Linked DNA regions of Homo sapiens: regions 2, 3, 4, 5 and 6 are each linked to region 1. The links are contacts of gene promoters, found by promoter capture Hi-C in human tissues and cell types (Jung and others, 2019). All regions are on one chromosome and are shown on one strand. Each heading gives the region's core, a stretch centred on a gene start or on the middle of the fragment in contact. The rest is flanking DNA. Distances are from core to core; before and after follow the strand shown.

Region 1 (2,708 bases), core at 119-2,618:
TCCACTAGTCCGCAAATGGGGGCCACCGTTAGAGCCAGGTGCGAGGAACAGCGAGTTTATTGCAGGTTCCAACCGGGAACCTGGCACCCACGGCTGGTTGGGAAGGGACGCCCTCCGCGCAGAGGCTGAGAGTTCCGCGCAGGCGCAATGCTTCCGTCCCCTCTGGTCTCGCCCTCTCGGGGCCTGGTCGCAGGGAATCGCGGATGCGCATGCGCCTCCAGCTCCCGGGATCGCGGGGAACGTGGATTCCGAACAAGGGCAACTGCGGACTCCCCCGTGGGAAGAAAGGGAGGGAAGCGGAAGGGAAAAAGCGCATGTGCAGCAGCACGCGGCAGCTTCGCATATTCCCTCGAAGCGCGCCTCTTGCGCGTGCGCCGCCCTGGCCCAGTGCCCTTGGCTGCAGGAATGGCTGGAACCACCCGGCTTCTAGCCGGAGTCCCCGGCGCGCAGCCAGCAGTTGCGCGCTACCTGGCCCGCGGAGGGCCTGGCGGACGGGCTGAACTGCAGCAGCTCGGCGATCAGGGCCTTGCAGCGCTCGGACAGCTCGAGGCCTTCGGGATAGAGCACGCCGCGTTTCTGGCGCCGGGGCAGGCCGGCGATGTCCGAGTCGTCGAAGGGCATGCACCCGGTGACCATGACGTAGAGCACGACGCCCATGCTCCACACATCGTACTTCTTGGGGTCGTAGGGGATGCCCAGGAGCACCTCGGGTGACGCGTAGGCGGCTGAGCCGCAGTAGGTGGTGCTCAGGTCTGGGTAGCCATGGGCCTGGCGGCCGAAGCCGAAGTCGGTGAGCTTGACGCGGCGCTCGTCCGGGCTCAGCAGCACGTTTTCGCACTTGAGGTCGCGGTGCACCAGGTGATGATCGTGCAGGTAGCGCACGGCGCCGGCGATCTGCGCAAAGAGGTCGCGCGCCTGAACTCCGGGGATGCGCCCGTTGCGCTGCACGGCTTGCAGCAGGTCGGTGGCGGCCGCTTCCATCACGATGTACAGTTTCCCGTTGCACACCTCGATGAACTCGAAGACGTGCACGATGTGCGGGTGTCGCACGCCCCGCAGGATGGACAGCTCTCGCGGCAGGAACTTGTTGACGAAGTCCGGGGGCGCTCGCCGCCGGTCCACCACCTTGATGGCCACGGTACCCTTGTACTTCTTGGATGTGGCCACCTTCACCTTGGAGTAGCTGCCCTCTCCAATTGTGCGGCCCAGCTTATAACCGAGTTCGCTCAGAAGTTTGTCTCCCGACATGGTGGCGCCTAGGGCGCACGGGGGGCAGGAGGCGGCTGCTGTCGGGGGGCGGCCGGACTCCAATCTCGGGTCTAAGCCATGGCGCTTGGCACCTACACCCCCGCACCCCCATGTGCCCACTGCCAGACATTGGCCGCTGTTGTGCCTTTTATTGCCCCGTAACAATTTTTGCCTTGTGAAGTGACTGCGGGCGTCACTCCGCCTTAGGGTGGGGGTCCGGGACCCCGCCCCGGGGCCACCCTAGCCTCCCTGCTTTGTGACTCATAATCATCCTGAATGGTCAGTTTCCGATGAGAGGCCACTAGCAAGGGATACCCATCACCACCAGGGAGCAGAATCCGTTCCAGGGATTGGGGTGAGTCCGACTTCGAGCAGCAGCTGCCCCCCAACATCATGTACCCAGCCCGTGACTACGTGGAGCCCTGGGCTTCGCGTAGAGTCCCTAGACGGGGCGAAAACGGGAAAAGGGGCCTTAACTGGGGCACCTGGCTCCTTTGAGAGCTCGGAGTTTCTGACTGGCCTGCGCAACACCCCAGAGGCAAGGTGAACGCGAGGGCCTATAATGCAAGAACCAAGGCGAGTCACGCCCTGTCTGGGCAAAAGAGGAGTAAAGACCCCTCAGCTGCAGCCCGGCAGCGCATTCCTACCCAGGGTCCGCCGCCAGAGCTTTCCCGCGCGGTCGGATAGTTACACTACTGTCCGGGACTTCCTAGCCGTGCCGCGGACCATCTCAAGTGCTTCCGCCACACTCATCATGGCGGTGGCAGTAAGTCACTTCCGCCCGGGACCGGAAGTGTGGGATACTGCGAGTATGGCGGCGTCAAAGGTGAAGCAGGACATGCCTCCGCCGGGGGGCTATGGGCCCATCGACTACAAACGGAACTTGCCGCGTCGAGGACTGTCGGGTCAGTATCACTCTGCGCCGGGGTCTCAGAGTCTGGGCACTCGGGGCTCGGGGGCGGGGTTCCGGGGACACAGGCGGGCCTCAGTTTTCCCGGCGGTGTGACCGGAGGCGGAGCCCGGGGATCCATCATAGCTTCTGTAATAACGCTAAGTGCTGCAGTTTGTTGAGGTCTTTCCCAGCTCCTCTTCCTTCTCGTAACAGCCCAGGAAATCGGTCCCTCTAGTTATTTACGTTTTACAGTGGGTTAAACTGAGTCATAGCCTGTGCTCTGGCCCTCAGCCACCCTTGGATTTCTAAGATGGGGAAACTGAGGCCCAAAGAAGGCCGCGGCTCCCCAAGGCAAAGCTGAGGCCGCAACCCGGAACCTGGAGGGAATTTACAAGATGTTCTATGCAGTGGTTCCCTGCTGGCAGCCCCCGCCTGCATGGTGTCACAGGAATCCATATTCTTTAAATTTTCAATTTTTTTTTTTTGAGACGGAGTTTTGCTCTTGTTGCCCAGGCTGGAGTGCAATGGCGCCATCTCGGCTCACCGCAACCTCCGCCTCCTGGGTTCA
Region 2 (2,708 bases), core at 97-2,596, 480 kb before region 1:
CTTCCTTTTTTTGAGACTCTCCCTGTTGCCCAGGCTGGAGTGCAGTGGCATGATCTCGGCTAACTGCAACCTCCGCCTCCTGGACTCAAGCAATTCTCCTGCCTCAGCCTCCTGAGTAGCTGGGATTACAGGAGTCCGCCACCGCATCCGACTAATTTTTATATTTTAGGTAGAGATGGAGTTTCACCATGTTGGCCAGGCTGGTCTTGAATTCCTGACCTCAAGTGATTCGCCCGCTTCGGCCTCCCAAAGTGCTGGGATTCCAGGCCGTGAGCCACTGCGCCTGGCCCAGGATCACTCTTTTCCCATTCACAGACTCAGCAGGGCACAGAGGCTCTGAGAACTTCCTTCCCTTCTAAAAGAAGCCTCTTGACAGTGAGTGGCGGGACCCCCAACCAATGACAATGAACTAGTGACAGTTCATTCTGCGCTGGGTCCTTGCGCGATCTCCCAACCACCCACTGAAGAGGCGGGTCCTGTTATGAATGACATTAGGGTGAGGAGGCAAAGGGAGACAGACTCAACGACCCATTCAAGACCAGACAGCCCAGATTTGAACCTGGCAAAAAGGGTATTCGTGCATCCAAAGCCCCGAAGAATGAGTAAAAAGATTAAGCAACATTTTGGGGTCCAGGGGCTGCATCCTTAACCATCAAGATATCCCGCTTCGCAAAACCTCCAACTTCAAGAGACAACCCGTAGGGTCCATTTCCCATCACGATCACCGCCTCCCCCACCCGCCTCCCCCAGTCCCATCCTTCAGCCCTTTTCCCGGGGCGCCCCCTTGTTCTCTGCTGGCAAAGGGCAGGGTTCCCGGGTCAGGTGACCCAGGTTCAAATCACACGATTCTAAGCTTTCTGTGCTTCCGTTTCCCCACCTATGGAATGGGCAGCCAGTAAAGGGGCTGGTGTGGGGGCTGAACCGGTTCTAAAGAGGGCAAGGGCCCGATGCAGCGCTGGGCGCCGTTATCTCCTCCCGAGCGGGGGCCGCTCCGAGTTCGGGAGGAATGAATGAACGACTGAACCAATGAGCCTTTGTGGACGCGGCCCGCCGTCTCCCGGCCTCTGCGGGCGAGGAAATGGGGGCGCCGGGCCCGGGAGGCCGCAGCCGGCCACCCAGGCCAACCCGGCGGGGACGCGGCCGCCGCCGCAGCCAGAGGGCCGAGCCTGCGACGCCATCACGGAGCCCGGGGCGGGCCCCCAAGGCCGAGCCCGAGCTTCCCACCCCGGGAGCCACCCACCGACGACGCCAGGGCCCGGGCCTCACCCCGAGACCACCGCGCGCGGAGCCACCCCCGCCGCCGCCTCAGGCTCCTCACCCGCCGCCGCCGCCGCGCGAGGCGGGGACATGCAAATGAACCAACGGTCTCCGCAGCGCCGCGCCGCGCAGGCGCAAGCCGCCGCCGAGTCCTGGTGCGCAGGCGCGGGCCGCCGCGGCCCGGCTCTCTTGCGCAAGCGCGCTGTCCGCTTCTTCTGGGCGGACGCTCTGGAGGCAAAACATTTCCCTGCTGGGGGCGGCGACCACCGTGAGCGTCCCGGAAGGGGCGGCAAAGACGCCTCCGTCGCGCACGAGGTGGCCTCGTTGGCTTTACCTTGGTTCGCGGTCGTCCTTGGTTATCGTGAGCGTCCGCGAGTCTCTGGGAGGCCAAGCCTAGGGGCGCCACAGCGCCTGCGCGCGTACGGCGGCCGGAAGGGGCTAGAGGCGGCTCCCTGGGTGACAACCGCGCGCCCCACCTTTCCCCACGTGGCCGCGAAGACCGGGTGAGACGCTGCGGCTGCCGAGGCCTGTCCCGCGCGGAGTGGGGAGTGGGGGTGCCGCAGGGTCGGGCTGGCGCGACCCTCGGGTACGTGGTTTGGGGGGAAAAAAAAAATGAAAGAATTTTACAGAAGCCGCCTGGGGACAAAATCCTCGGCTTCCCTGGCATTCGCTTTATTTTCATTCATTTTATTTATTCATTCAGCACCTGTGCACTGAGTGCCTGCTGCGTGTCGGGCCCCGTCCTAGGCAGTGGGGACAAGGAGGCTACAGGGTACAAATAAATGAGTGAACGATGTTGCTCTAGATACAGGTAATGGTGTGCAAATAATAACAGAGTGATGGGACGGGAAAGCAGGGCTGCTCTTTATCTAGAAGTGGTTTTGAAGGCTGTCTCTTGAGTGCTGGGAAGGATGAGAAAGGCGGGGAAGAGGAACTTGGAAGGCTTAGATAGAGAAGGTGCGGATAAGGAGGCTGGGTTTTGTTCTGAGAGGGTTGGGAAGCCACTACCGGGCTTTGAGCACGTGAGTGAGGTGGAGTCTAGGCTCTGGGAGTGGCAGGTGACGCCGCCCTTAGGGGAGGCTGGTGTTTGAACCAGAGTGGGTGTGGCTGGTAGAGGGACATGTGGATGGAGTCTTTTAGAGTCCCCAGCATGTCATGGCACACGTTTAATTTTCTTTTGAGACGGAGTCTTTCTCTGTCGCCCAGGCTAGAGTGTAGTGGCATGATCTTGACTCACTGCAACCTCCACCTCCCGGGTTCAAGGGCTTCCCCTGCCTCAGCCTCCCGAGTAGCTGGGACTACAGGTGCGCAACACCGCACCTGGCTAAATTTTGTATTTTTTTTTTTTTTGAAACGGAGTCAAAAGGAGTTCAAGCGATCTCCTGCCTCAGCCTCCTGAGTAGCTGGGATTACCGGTGTGCACTATCTTGCCTGGCCTTTTTTTTTTTTTT
Region 3 (2,708 bases), core at 138-2,637, 450 kb before region 1:
CATAGAACAGAGTGGCTTCGGGGGAGGTGCCGATGACACAGCCATGCCTGGGATGGCAGGTGTCTCCCTAAACTGCCGGCATTTTTCTGCACTTCACAGAGGAGCTGAGGCTCACAGGCCGCACATGACCTGCTCAGGGTCAAATGCTTTCACCAGATAATTAAAATGAGAGCTGAGTTGTAAATTTTCCCAGGGAAGCAACCCCAGAGAGGAAAGATCAAGGCATAGGAATCATTTTCCCCCCTCTTTTCCAAATGAAACAGCTGAGGCTCACAAGGGCTTTTGCCCAAGGTTGTGTGGTGGGCCAGTGATTGGACAAGGATTCAAACCCAGGTCTCTGAGGCCCCCAGTGGCTCTTCTCTGACACACTCTTTCCAAAAAGCAGGCTGCTCTAGATTCATTCTCTGGTTTAGCAACCAGAGAATGCTGTGTAACCTTGGGCAAGGAGCTTGACCTCTCTGTGCTCTGGTTTCTGTAAAAGGAGCCAGTGGTCTCTCTGACCTCATGGGATTGTGGTTAAGATTCAGTTAATTCAAAAAAAGACTTGGCAGGGAGAAGGCCCAACAGGGATGTCACTGGATACCGTGGCGGGGAAAGCTGGGACGCAGAGAGGTCAGACACTCAGAAAACCACGCAGCGCGTTTCAGTAGGATTCCGCCCCTTATTTCCATGTCTTCACACCACCTCGAGATGGAGAGGGCAGTTCAGAGTGACCTCCAGCGAATCTGCCCTCTCCGTGTCGTCTGCAGGGGATTAGTGGGGAGTAAGGGGATAGAGAATTATCCAGGAGTCCTTCAGCCTTGATGGTCCAAGTTCACATCCGCTTCTGTGCTAGGTGGCCAGAGGGCGGGCTCTACACGAGAGCCTCAGGGGACCCTGCGCCAGGCGTCCGAGGCCACGTCGGGTTGCCGCGCTCCGGGTCGGACTGCACCTTGAACGCTCCAGCCCTCCCCTGGGGGCGTACCGCCCACGGCCGCTGCGACTGGCCGCGGGGCCTGCCAGTCTTCGGCTTTGCGGCCAATCCCGGTCTCCCCCCAAGCTACGCCCTCCGTTCCTCTCGCCTCTGCCCCACCGGTAGCGCCAGTTTCTTCGTAGCCCCGCCCCTGGCCCCCAGCGATTGGCCGACAGTTCTGCCTGTTTTCTGCCAAGATTCCAATCCTCGCCTGCCTCCAGGCCCTCGCCTCCCAGCGCCTAGCACCCTGAGGGACCACTCAGGCACCCCAGGCCTCTCCCAATAGCCCCACCTCTGCCAATCAGCGATTGGCTTTAGGGGCTGCCCATCTGCTTCATACTCGCCAATCACTGTCGCTTCCAGCGCTGACTGGCCAGGGAGCAGCCAATCGGGGCGTGGCGTGGACCCCTCCCGTGGCGCGCTCTGGGGGTGCGCGAGGCGGGGCCGTGGCGGCTGGAGGTAGCGGCGGCGGCGACGCGTCCGGGCCGGTGAGGGGGCGCGGGGGGCGCCGGGGGGGCCCAAGCGTCAGCGGCCCGCGCCTGTCGGGCTGAACTGAGGTGAGGCACGGGTCCTGTCATGGATCCCGGGGCGAGGGGCGGATGAGGCGGGGCATGACAGTAGCGTCGCGAGGGCAGGAAGAGGTTAAAGACCCCCCCCAACCCCACACTCCACGTCTACTGCCCCCTGGGGGCTACTGCATCCAGGTTTGAGCCCGTCACCCGCAGTCCACGCACGCCTGACACCACGTCCCTTTTCGTTGACATCCCCCATACACTTTAGACTGTCCTTGCTGACATCTCCCACACCCCTGGGGCCTTGTCCCCGGCGCCCCGCACAGCTGGGTCTGACATCCCCCTCACACACCTGACACCGCGCCCCCACTCACGAACACCCGCCCCCACTCACGAACACCCCCCACATCACCTGAGTCTGTCCTTGTCGATGACACCCCCACACCCACACCTGAGCCTGTGACTCCTAACTCATGGCCTCGCAACTCACACCTGGACCTAGTCCCGTCCCCCACTGCCTTTCCTCATATCCAGGTATCTGCTCGCTACTCTCGTGCCCACTCCCCCAGCAACCTGTGTCTCTCTTCTCAGGGACCTTCCCCCTGGCACCTGCCCTCTGCCCTGGCAGCCCCACACCTCTGTCTCCCCCTTTTCTCTCTCCCACCTTGGGCTTTCTTCCACGTGCACCTGTGTTCGCACACCCTCTGTAATAATCCCCCCGAATCCCCCAGGTCCTCCAATAGTCCCCCAAGCCTTGGTATCTCAGGATCGCTGCACCCTCCCCTCCCCAAACAAAAGCTTACCCCAGTGTTCATTTCTAACAGTGCTTGACAGTCTATAAAGTGATTTCCGGACCTTAGAATAATCCCATCTGTCAGACCAAACCGGAATCATCTCCATTTTACCAGCCACAGACCTAAACCACTTGAATGCTAGAGGCAGAGCCTATTCTACCCTGGGCATCGCTGACCCTCTGCTGTGGACCCACCGCGTTTGGGCCCATCTGTTATGTTTATCTCAGAGGGATTGGCAGGAGTCGTGACTTTGACTGGGTCCGGAAAGGCTTAGCTGGAAGGGACGGCCCCTCTGCCAAGCGTGTGTCTCGGAGTCCTGGGGCAGGCTGGCGGTGGAGACGCTGCCGGAGGAGGGGGGCTCATCATCTTGGGTGCCTCCTGCAGGATGCCGGAGAGGGGGTTGCCGGGGCCGGGGCTCCCAGCTCTTGCAGACCCGGGACCCCTCTCCGA
Region 4 (2,708 bases), core at 113-2,612, 370 kb after region 1:
TATATATTCATTAACAGATGTTTATAATAATTCCTCTACTTCCATCTTTTGCATTTTAGAGAATAACTAAAAGTGCTTTCTGTGCCATTATGATAATAAGTAAGGAATTCTATTTTTGTGTATGTGCATATCTTCTCCAGAAAGTTATGTATTTTCATATGATCATGTGTTGTTTTCTTGTATTATGTTATTTTCAGTGGAAGAAACTTCTTTCAGCATCTTTGATAGGTAGGGCATATGCAGTGCCAATATACTTTCTTAGGATTTGGTTATTTTGGAAGGACTCCTTTTTATATGATAGTACAATTTTGCCGATGGTATTATTTTCTGCAAAAATTTTTTTTGATAAATTCACTGGTTATCTTATAAGACTATGCTTATAAATGACACATCATTTTTATCTTGCAGCACCCAAAATTCTTTTCTTATCTGTGATTTTTGAAATTTTGCTTATAGGTGTGTTTGTGATAAATATCTTTTTGTGTATCCTAGTTTGTTCAGCTTCTTCATGTTTACATTATTTTTTCTTTTAAGAAATTTTTAAGTTATTTTTATATTTTTTATATCCATAATTTTTGTTTTTTTCTATTTTAATATTTTTTCTTGTTTATCCTCATTTTTCTGATCTTCAGTAGTCGTCTGTGTTCCTATTTCACTTACTGAATATCATTCAATTTCTTTTATGTAATTAATTAATTTATTTATTTTCTGAGACAGAGTCTCACTCTGTTGCCCAGGCTAGAGTGCAGTGGCATGATCTTGGCTCACTGTAACCTACCCCTCCCAGGTTCAAGTGAGTCTCCTGCCTCAGCCTCCCAGTAGCTGGGATTACAGGTGCATGCTGCCACATTTGGCTGATTTTTGTATTTTTAGTAGAGATAGGCTTTCACTCTGTTGGCCAGGCTGATCTTGAACTCCTGACCTCAAATGATCCACCCACCCCAGCCTCCCAAAGTGCTGGGATTACAGGCATGAGCCACTGTTCCTGTCCTACTTTATTTTTTTTTTGAGACAGGCTTGCTCTGTTGCCCAGCCTGGCCAGCAGTGGTACAGTCACTCACTGCAAGCTTCCCATCTTGGGTTCAAGCAGTTCTCGTGTGTCAGTCTCCTACGTGGCTGGGATTACAGGCACATGCCACCACGCCCAGCTAATTTTTGTATTTTTAGTAGTTACAGGGTTTCACCATGTTGGCCAGGCTGGTCTCAAACTCCTGACCTCATGTGATTTTCCTACCTTGGCTTCCCAATGTGTTAGAATTACAGGAATGAGCTTCCAAGCTTGGCCTGTTCAATTTATTCTGAATTTTAAAAATTACTTTATTCACTTTTTATGGCTGCTTTTGAAAATTTTATAATTTTTTTGATGGGCCATGCTGCCCAAATATTTTGTATACATTGTAATCTTTGAGTGAGATTCAGGCATTAACAAAAAGCTACCTGTGCCAATCTTTATAATATAGTTTTGTCCTTGTGTAGTCTGAAATCAATTGTTTTGGCTAGAGATTCTGGGAATTTCTCAAACATGTTTTTAGGATGTGTCTTGTCTAAAATTTTGTGTTTATTGTTTAGTTAAATCGGCTTATTCATATTTCTTCCTAATAATCAGTAATCACTTGCTACAGCCATTCCTGTTTGGATTACTGCAGTTTCTCTGCTTCTGTAACATTTACCTTTAGACTCAGCAGACTCAAACTGTCATTCTAACATATCACTGTTTCAGCATTTTATGTCATGGGAGACATTAGCCGGTGTCTAAAAAAGTTCATAGATGCCAGAAATAAAGATGTATGTGCCAATATTTTTCTTATTTTTAAAAAAGAAACCAGGAGTTGGCAATTTATATTTGTGTGTGTGTGTGTGTGTGTGTGTGTGTGTGTGTGTGTGTGTGACAGAGTCTCACTCTCTTACCTAGGCTGGAGTGCAGTGGCAAAAATCTTAGCTCACTACAATCTCCGTCTCCACAGTTGAAGCAATTCTCCTGCCTCAGCCTTCAGGTAGCTAGGATTACAGGTACCTGTTACCATGCCTGGCTAATTTTCTGTATTTTTAGTTGAGATGGGGTTTCACCATGTTGGTCAGGCTGGTCTCAGTCTCCTCACCTTAGGTGATCCACCTGCCTTGCCTTACCAAAGTGCTGGGGTTACAGGCATTAGCCATCATGCCTGGCCAACAATTTAATTTTTTTTTTTTTTTTTTTTTTTTTTTGAGATGGCGTCTCACTCTGTTGCCCAGGCTGGAGTGCAGTGGTGCAATCTTGGCTCACTGCAGTCTTTGCCTCCCTGGTTCAAGCAATTCTCTGCCGCAGCCCTCCGAGTAGCTGGGATTAAATGTGCCCGCCACCATGTCTGGCTAATTTTTTGTATTTTTAGTAGAGACAAGGTTTCACCATCTTGGCCAGGCTGGTCTTGAACTCCCGACCTCATGATCCACCCACCTCAGCCTCCCAAAGTGCTGTGATTACAGGCGTGAGCCACCATGCCCAACTGGCAATTTACTTTTAAAAGCACAATGTTATACTGGGCAGCAGGAAGAGCTGTGTTGGGTATAACTAACAGAGCTTTCTTTTTCTTCTATGTGGCTATTTGCATTCTGCTCACCTGGAGCCCTTCACACACTTAACTCATTTATAAATTTTTTACAATTTTATTTTTGTCACTATGTTTTTGTTACATTTATGTGTCCAGGAAGAAATCAGAACTGGTGGTATT
Region 5 (2,708 bases), core at 132-2,631, 380 kb before region 1:
AGGCTCTCCTGGGAGACCCTAGCACTCACCCATCATCCCATACCCTTCCAGGTGGTTCAGGCCCTTCCCAGTCTCACAGTCAGCCCCCAACTTGGTTCTGCACCCTGCAGGCATAGCTAGAGACCATCCCTCCACCTCCCCACAGCTCAGCTCTCTCCTCAGCCCTCCCTGCACCCAACCACTGGAGTCTCAGAGGTCTTCCTGGACCTTTGGGCTCTTCATCAATGACCCCACCACCCCCCAAAACCCCCCAAGGGAAAAGGTGGTGGAGGGGTGCATCTCTCCACCTAAGGCTCCCAGAGGTCTGTCCAGGGATGTTCTGATGGCCCTGCCCTCCACCCAGCCTCCTGTCTCAGGGTCAGGGCTCTGCAGACATCTGCAAGAATTTTCTGGAGTCTTCCATCAGCTCCTTCTTTTCCCTTCACTGGATTTACGATTCTCGAACTCAAGAACCCTGATAAAATCAATGCAGCCTCCCTCCTCATTCCCGGGAGCCTGTGCCTTCATCTCCTACGGCGTCCTGCACCTCCGCCTGGGACGACGCCCCACTTTCAATAATTCCGGCCATCAGTGCCCTTCCTTCAGGGCCATCTCCAGCGCCCCTCCTCGGGGATGGTCCCAGGCAGAGACCCTCCAGTTCCACGTCCCTCTCTCTGCCCAGGCCGGTCCCGTCAGGGTTGTGGGAGTCCCCCATCTCCCTGCACCAGCCTGACCCCCAGGGGCTGGGCTAAGTTTTAAGAACACACTCAATAGGTTGGACCCAGAGCCGCGTGAGACCTGAAGGTTCCAACTTTCCTGTCTCCCACTCTGAGAACCTTGCCCGCCCTGAGGCCAACCAGACCTCCTGAGTCCACCTCCCACGGCCTCCCCTGCCCGTTCCACACACCCCGATATAGCAGGGACCCCCGATGGATCCTGTCGGCGCGGCCCCCACGCTCCTGCAGGACCCCCGTCCCCAGAGTGGACCCCCAACAGGACCCCACACCGCCTTAACCAGGTTCCAAATGTGCTGGGGTCCCCAGTCCCCTCTGTGGGACCACGACCCCTCAAAAGGATCCCAGACCCCTAAAAGGTCTCGAGGGCAGAATCCCCAGAACGCTTAGGGGCTTCTAGTCCCCCTGGGTACAACTCCCGCCGACTCCCTCGGAGGTCCTGTAGCGAGAGCAGGGCTCCCAGAGAGGGACACACGGCCTTCAGCGTGCCCCCGAATCCCTCAGAGCCTCCAATCCCCAAGAAGAAACCCCAATCCATTCCCTCAGTGTCTCCCTGGACCCCTTCGGCTGGACCTCGGCCCTGCAGAACCCCCCACTTCGCGGGACGCTCGCTCACCATGACGCGTGCGAGAACGCGGTGCACTCACCCACCGGCCTAGGGCTCCGGGCACTCTGCGGAAACTCGACCAATTAGAGCCCGACTCTGGTCTGACGAGCATCCCGTCCGACCAATCAGTGTGTCTTGAGCCGGCAAATCACCAGGGACGAGGAGGCCGCTCGCGTTGCATGCCGGAAATTGTAGTTCAGATACGCTGGTTCGGATCGATCAAAGTGAAGATTGTGTCTGGGAGGCCTGCGTGGCCGACCTCTCTTAAGGCTTAGTTTTCTCTTTCCTACACTTATCTCAAAGGTTTGCAGCGAAAGCATTTATTCCCACCTAAGGGACATTTCTGAGAGTAGAATTCCCTCCCCCCATCAAGAACATTCAATGGCTCCCACTTAGTAGACGAAGTACTTAGTACTCCTAAGTACTAAGTAGGCTAAGTACTCAGACTGAATTCAGACCCTTCTGCCTGACTTAAATCTGCTGCTAGCACTATTGTGCACCCTATAGTACAACTTGCACCCACCATGCTGTCTCATACCTCCAGGCCTTTGTAAATATCCTACATCTTGCAATGCCTTCAAGAATGCCTCAATCTTAAAATAAAAACAAAACAAAAGCAAAAAAGAATGCCTCAATCTTTTTCACCTGGCAAGTGCCTTATTCATCTCTATCAGCTAGGACTCTGGCTGTGCTCCACAAAATATCAACTAACATGGGTTCAAGCAAAAAAGGAAAATTTTTGGCTCATGTGACAGAAAATACTAGCCATAGTGTCAGCTTCAGGCGTGGCTGGATCAAGGACCAAATGTCAGCTTCAGGGATCTGATGTTCTTTATTTCACCGCTAGGAGGAAAGGGCTTCTGGTGTTTGTGCCCCGGTTTTGCCATTTGTCTTTCTGTGGATGAGTGTGTCTGCCTGAGTGTAGACATATATTGGGTATGACTGAGTGTCTGAGCATCTTTATGGGGGTGGGTTCCTGTGTGTGGGGCCTGAGTAATTACCTTTTCGTTTTTACATTTTATTATGTATTTGTGTATTAATTTTTTTTTTTCTTGAGACGGAGTTTCGCTCTTGTTGCCCAGGCTGGAGTGAAATGGTGTGATCTTGGCTCACCGCAACTTCCGCCTCTTGGGTTCAAGTGAGTCTCCTGCCTCAGCCTCCCGAGTAGCTGGGATTACAGGCATGCACCACCACGACTGGCTAATTTTGCATTTTTAGTAGAGATGAGGTTTCTCCATGTTGATCAGGTTGGTCTTGAACTCCCGACTTGAGGTGATCCGCCCACGTCGGCCTCCCAGAGTGCTGAGATTACAGGCGTGAGCCACCGGGCCTGGTTTATATTTTATTTTTTTAACTTTCGGCTGGCAAGTGCTGAATCCTAAGCGCAC
Region 6 (2,708 bases), core at 90-2,589, 350 kb after region 1:
CTTAAAGGTTGTTTCAAACTGAAAAAATAAAAAGAATGTAGATATAAATAAAATATAGTTAAAAAATTACAGGAGATTACAAATTATATATGTAAATCTCGAGAGGTCAAAAATGACAAATTTTGTTTATTTACAAGGTTTTATTTATGTATTTATTCATTTTTGGAGACGCAGTCTCACTTTGTCACCCAGGCTTGAGTGCAGTGGTGCGATCTTGGCTCACCGCAACCTCTGCCTCCTGGGTTCAAGCCATTCTCCTGCCTCAGCCTCCTGAGTAGCTGGGACCACAGGTGCATGCCACCACGCCCGGGTAATTTTTTGTATTTTTAGTAGAGACAGAGTTTCACCGTGTTAGCCAGGATGGTCTCGATTTCCTGACCCAGTGATCTGCCCTCCTCAGCCTCCCAAAGTACTGGGATTACAGGCCTGAGCCACCGCACCTGGCTTTACAAGGTCTTATTAAAATTAGCTTTAGTATTGATAATACACTATTACCAAAGTAAAAGTTGACTTTCTCTTGAACAAACATTTCATGTATTATTAATATGACAGCAAAGTACTTCTGTTCACCTTTTGAATACATTCAAAAAGAGAGAGAATATGAGATAGAATTTTCCCATGCTCTGGGATGGGATGCTCAGCTCAGGGAGGAAGCCGTTTGAAAAGGCTCCAGCTAGGCTAGGCGCGGTGGCTCACGCTTGTAATCCCAGCACTTTGGGAGGCCGAGGCGGGCGGATCACCTGAGATCGGGAGCTCGAGACCAGCCTGACCAACACGGAGAAACCCTGTCTCTACTAAAAGTACAAAAAATTAGACGGGCGTGGTGAGGCATGCCTGTAATCCCAGCTACATGGGAGGCTGAGGTAGGAGAATCGCTTGAACCCGGGAGGTGCAGGTTGCGGTGAGCCAACATCGTGCCATTGCACTCTAGCCTGGGCAACAAGAGGGAAACTCCGTCTCGGTGGGGGGAAAAAAGAAAGAAAAGAAAGAAAGAAAGAAAGAAAGAAAAAGAAAGAAAGAAAGAAAGGAAAGAAAGAAAGAAAGAAAGAAAGAAAGAAAGAAAGAAAGAAAGAAAGAAAGAAAGAAAGAAAGAAAGAAAGAAAGAAAGAAAGAAAGAAAGAAAGAAAGAAAGAAAGAAAAGGCTGCAGCCTAGGCTGTCACTCTTTCTTCACTCAGCCCAGTATCTGATCACATCTGTCACTCAGCGGCTGGGGAGGCGGGGCCTTAGGCATTATCCAATGAGGGACGCTGGGCCGGAAACCGTCCAATCAGGCACGCAGCTGGAGCGAACCACATGGTTTCTGGGGGCCTTTGTTTCTCGCTGCAGCGGGAGCTCCAGGTTTATCCTCAGTGTTCTGTGTCCTGTGCTTATAGAGGCCCGTCCTCTGTGGCCGTGTGACCTGCAAGTATTGGGAGAGCCACAGCTAAACCCCGGGACCCCTGGAAGCCTAGAAATGGTGAGTGCCGGGTCCAACGTCCCGAGAGAGGGGAGAGGCTGTTTGGAACGGTGGGAAGTGGCTCTGGCGGGACTCTGCTTCCTCACAGTCAGCTCCACAATCTGCCGCCGGAGTTCTCCCTGCCCAGCTCGGCCTCAGTCCCCTTCAGCCATAAGATGGCGGCTGCGGTGACATCCGGGGCCCGGCACAGTGATTGTGCCCTGGCCTGGAGCCCTCTTTCAGCAGCTCTGCACCCGCAGCACCGCGTCTCTCCCAGATCATGCAAGGACCACGGGAGGGTCGTCAGGGGAGAATCCTGACTCGGTTCCCTGCGGGTTCATGAATGGGAAGAGCTTTGGTCCGTGAGGTTGTTAGAAACAAGCGCTTGGTGCCGCAAAACAACACAAAACAAAAAACTACCCAGCACTTAGAAAATTTCACAGGAAGGCATATTTACTTCTGAAGAAGAGTGCTGCTCGCGTCCGACCTGATCGCAAGAGCACACAGAAGAAAGGAAGGAAGGTTTTTTTTTTTTTTGAGGCGGAGTTTTGCTCTTGTGGCCCAGGCTAAAGTACAATGGCGCGATCTCGGCTCACTGCAACCTCCGTCTCCCGGGTTCAAGTGATTCTCCTGCCTCAGCCTCCCGAGTAGCTGGGGTTACAGGCATGCGTCACCACACCCGGCTGATTTTGTATTTTTAGTAGACATGCCGTTTCACCATGTTGGTCAGGCTGGTTTTGAACTCCCGAACTCAGTTGATCCGCCCGCCTCGGCCTCCCAGTTTGAAAGGGGTTTTTAACCCTAAACGCCGTTATTGCCTCTGTGTCCTTCCCCCATTGGCCGGGGTCTGACCTCACAATCTAGGCTGACCCGATTGGCTACTTTCCAAATAAGGAAGGGGTTCGGGTCGCAGATTGGAACAGGCGGTTTGGGTTGTTTACGGAGCGGGTGTCTAGGTACAAAGAGGTACAAAAAAGTTGGTCCTAAGAACAAGGAACAAGAAAGTTAGGCCCTTGAAGAGGAATCTATTATATCTGTCAGGGTTCACAGTTTCCCTTTTCTCCTATTAAAAATTTATGGGGCCGGGCGCGGTGGCTCACGCCTGTAATAACAACACTTCAGGAGGTCGAGGTGGATGGATCACTTGAGGTCAGGAGTTGAAGACCAGCCTGGCCAAAATGGGGAAACCCCATCTCTACTAAAAGTACAAAAATTAGCTGGGTGTGATGGCGAATGTCTGGTTTTCTGTTTCTGCATTAGTTTTCTGAAATA

Evidence for each region. Contacts are between HindIII fragments. The study calls those that stand out against the background at their distance.
Region 2: the fragment with the promoter of SUGP2 here is called in contact with the fragment with the promoter of TSSK6 in region 1 in 3 of the 25 tissues and cell types used here (H1 embryonic stem cells, dorsolateral prefrontal cortex and spleen).
Region 3: a contact is called between the fragment with the promoter of SLC25A42 here and the fragment with the promoter of TSSK6 in region 1, in 2 of the 25 tissues and cell types used here (dorsolateral prefrontal cortex and spleen).
Region 4: a fragment that was not itself captured here is called in contact with the fragment with the promoter of TSSK6 in region 1 in 1 of the 25 tissues and cell types used here (spleen).
Region 5: a contact is called between the fragment with the promoter of TMEM161A here and the fragment with the promoter of TSSK6 in region 1, in 3 of the 25 tissues and cell types used here (H1 embryonic stem cells, dorsolateral prefrontal cortex and spleen).
Region 6: the fragment with the promoter of ZNF253 here is called in contact with the fragment with the promoter of TSSK6 in region 1 in 2 of the 25 tissues and cell types used here (heart right ventricle and spleen).

Annotation. Positions count from the first base shown.
Region 1 is chr19:19,514,180-19,516,887 of GRCh38, forward strand. TSSK6 (testis specific serine kinase 6) reads right to left here and starts at 1,369. Exons shown (of 1, transcript NM_032037.4): 1 at 40-1,369. The coding sequence starts at 1,248. The coding sequence ends at 427. It overlaps NDUFA13 (NADH:ubiquinone oxidoreductase subunit A13), which reads left to right and starts at 2,046. Exons shown (of 5, transcript NM_015965.7): 1 at 2,046-2,153. The coding sequence starts at 2,060. RefSeq lists a silencer at 1,615-1,734 and an enhancer at 1,945-2,224. The HindIII fragment of the contact is 21,153 bases long and covers 1-2,708 here.
Region 2 is chr19:19,032,171-19,034,878 of GRCh38, forward strand. SUGP2 (SURP and G-patch domain containing 2) reads right to left here and starts at 1,347. Exons shown (of 11, transcript NM_001017392.5): 1 at 1,267-1,347. ARMC6 (armadillo repeat containing 6) reads left to right here and starts at 1,433. Exons shown (of 9, transcript NM_001199196.2): 1 at 1,433-1,760; 2 at 1,961-2,068. The coding sequence starts at 2,040. RefSeq lists an enhancer at 79-580 and silencers at 507-586, 1,007-1,436. The HindIII fragment of the contact is 6,904 bases long and covers 1-2,708 here.
Region 3 is chr19:19,062,607-19,065,314 of GRCh38, forward strand. SLC25A42 (solute carrier family 25 member 42) reads left to right here and starts at 1,388. Exons shown (of 8, transcript NM_178526.5): 1 at 1,388-1,509. It overlaps LOC124904655 (a long non-coding RNA gene), which reads right to left and starts at 919. Exons shown (of 3, transcript XR_007067160.1): 1 at 584-919. RefSeq lists silencers at 860-1,029, 1,290-1,559. The HindIII fragment of the contact is 11,421 bases long and covers 1-2,708 here.
Region 4 is chr19:19,888,655-19,891,362 of GRCh38, forward strand. All of the region lies in intron 3 of ZNF253 (zinc finger protein 253), which reads left to right. Among named protein-coding and RNA genes, the nearest start is that of ZNF93, 11 kb to the right of the region's middle. The HindIII fragment of the contact is 3,621 bases long and covers 1-2,708 here.
Region 5 is chr19:19,137,097-19,139,804 of GRCh38, forward strand. TMEM161A (transmembrane protein 161A) reads right to left here and starts at 1,382. Exons shown (of 12, transcript NM_017814.3): 1 at 1,330-1,382. The coding sequence starts at 1,332. RefSeq lists enhancers at 764-1,625, 1,110-1,319, 1,600-1,789 and a silencer at 1,380-1,459. The HindIII fragment of the contact is 19,527 bases long and covers 1-2,708 here.
Region 6 is chr19:19,864,543-19,867,250 of GRCh38, forward strand. ZNF253 (zinc finger protein 253) reads left to right here and starts at 1,340. Exons shown (of 4, transcript NM_021047.3): 1 at 1,340-1,457. The coding sequence starts at 1,455. LOC124904664 (a long non-coding RNA gene) reads right to left here. Exons shown (of 4, transcript XR_007067169.1): 1 at 1,894-2,708. RefSeq lists an enhancer at 1,371-1,800. The HindIII fragment of the contact is 7,733 bases long and covers 1-2,708 here.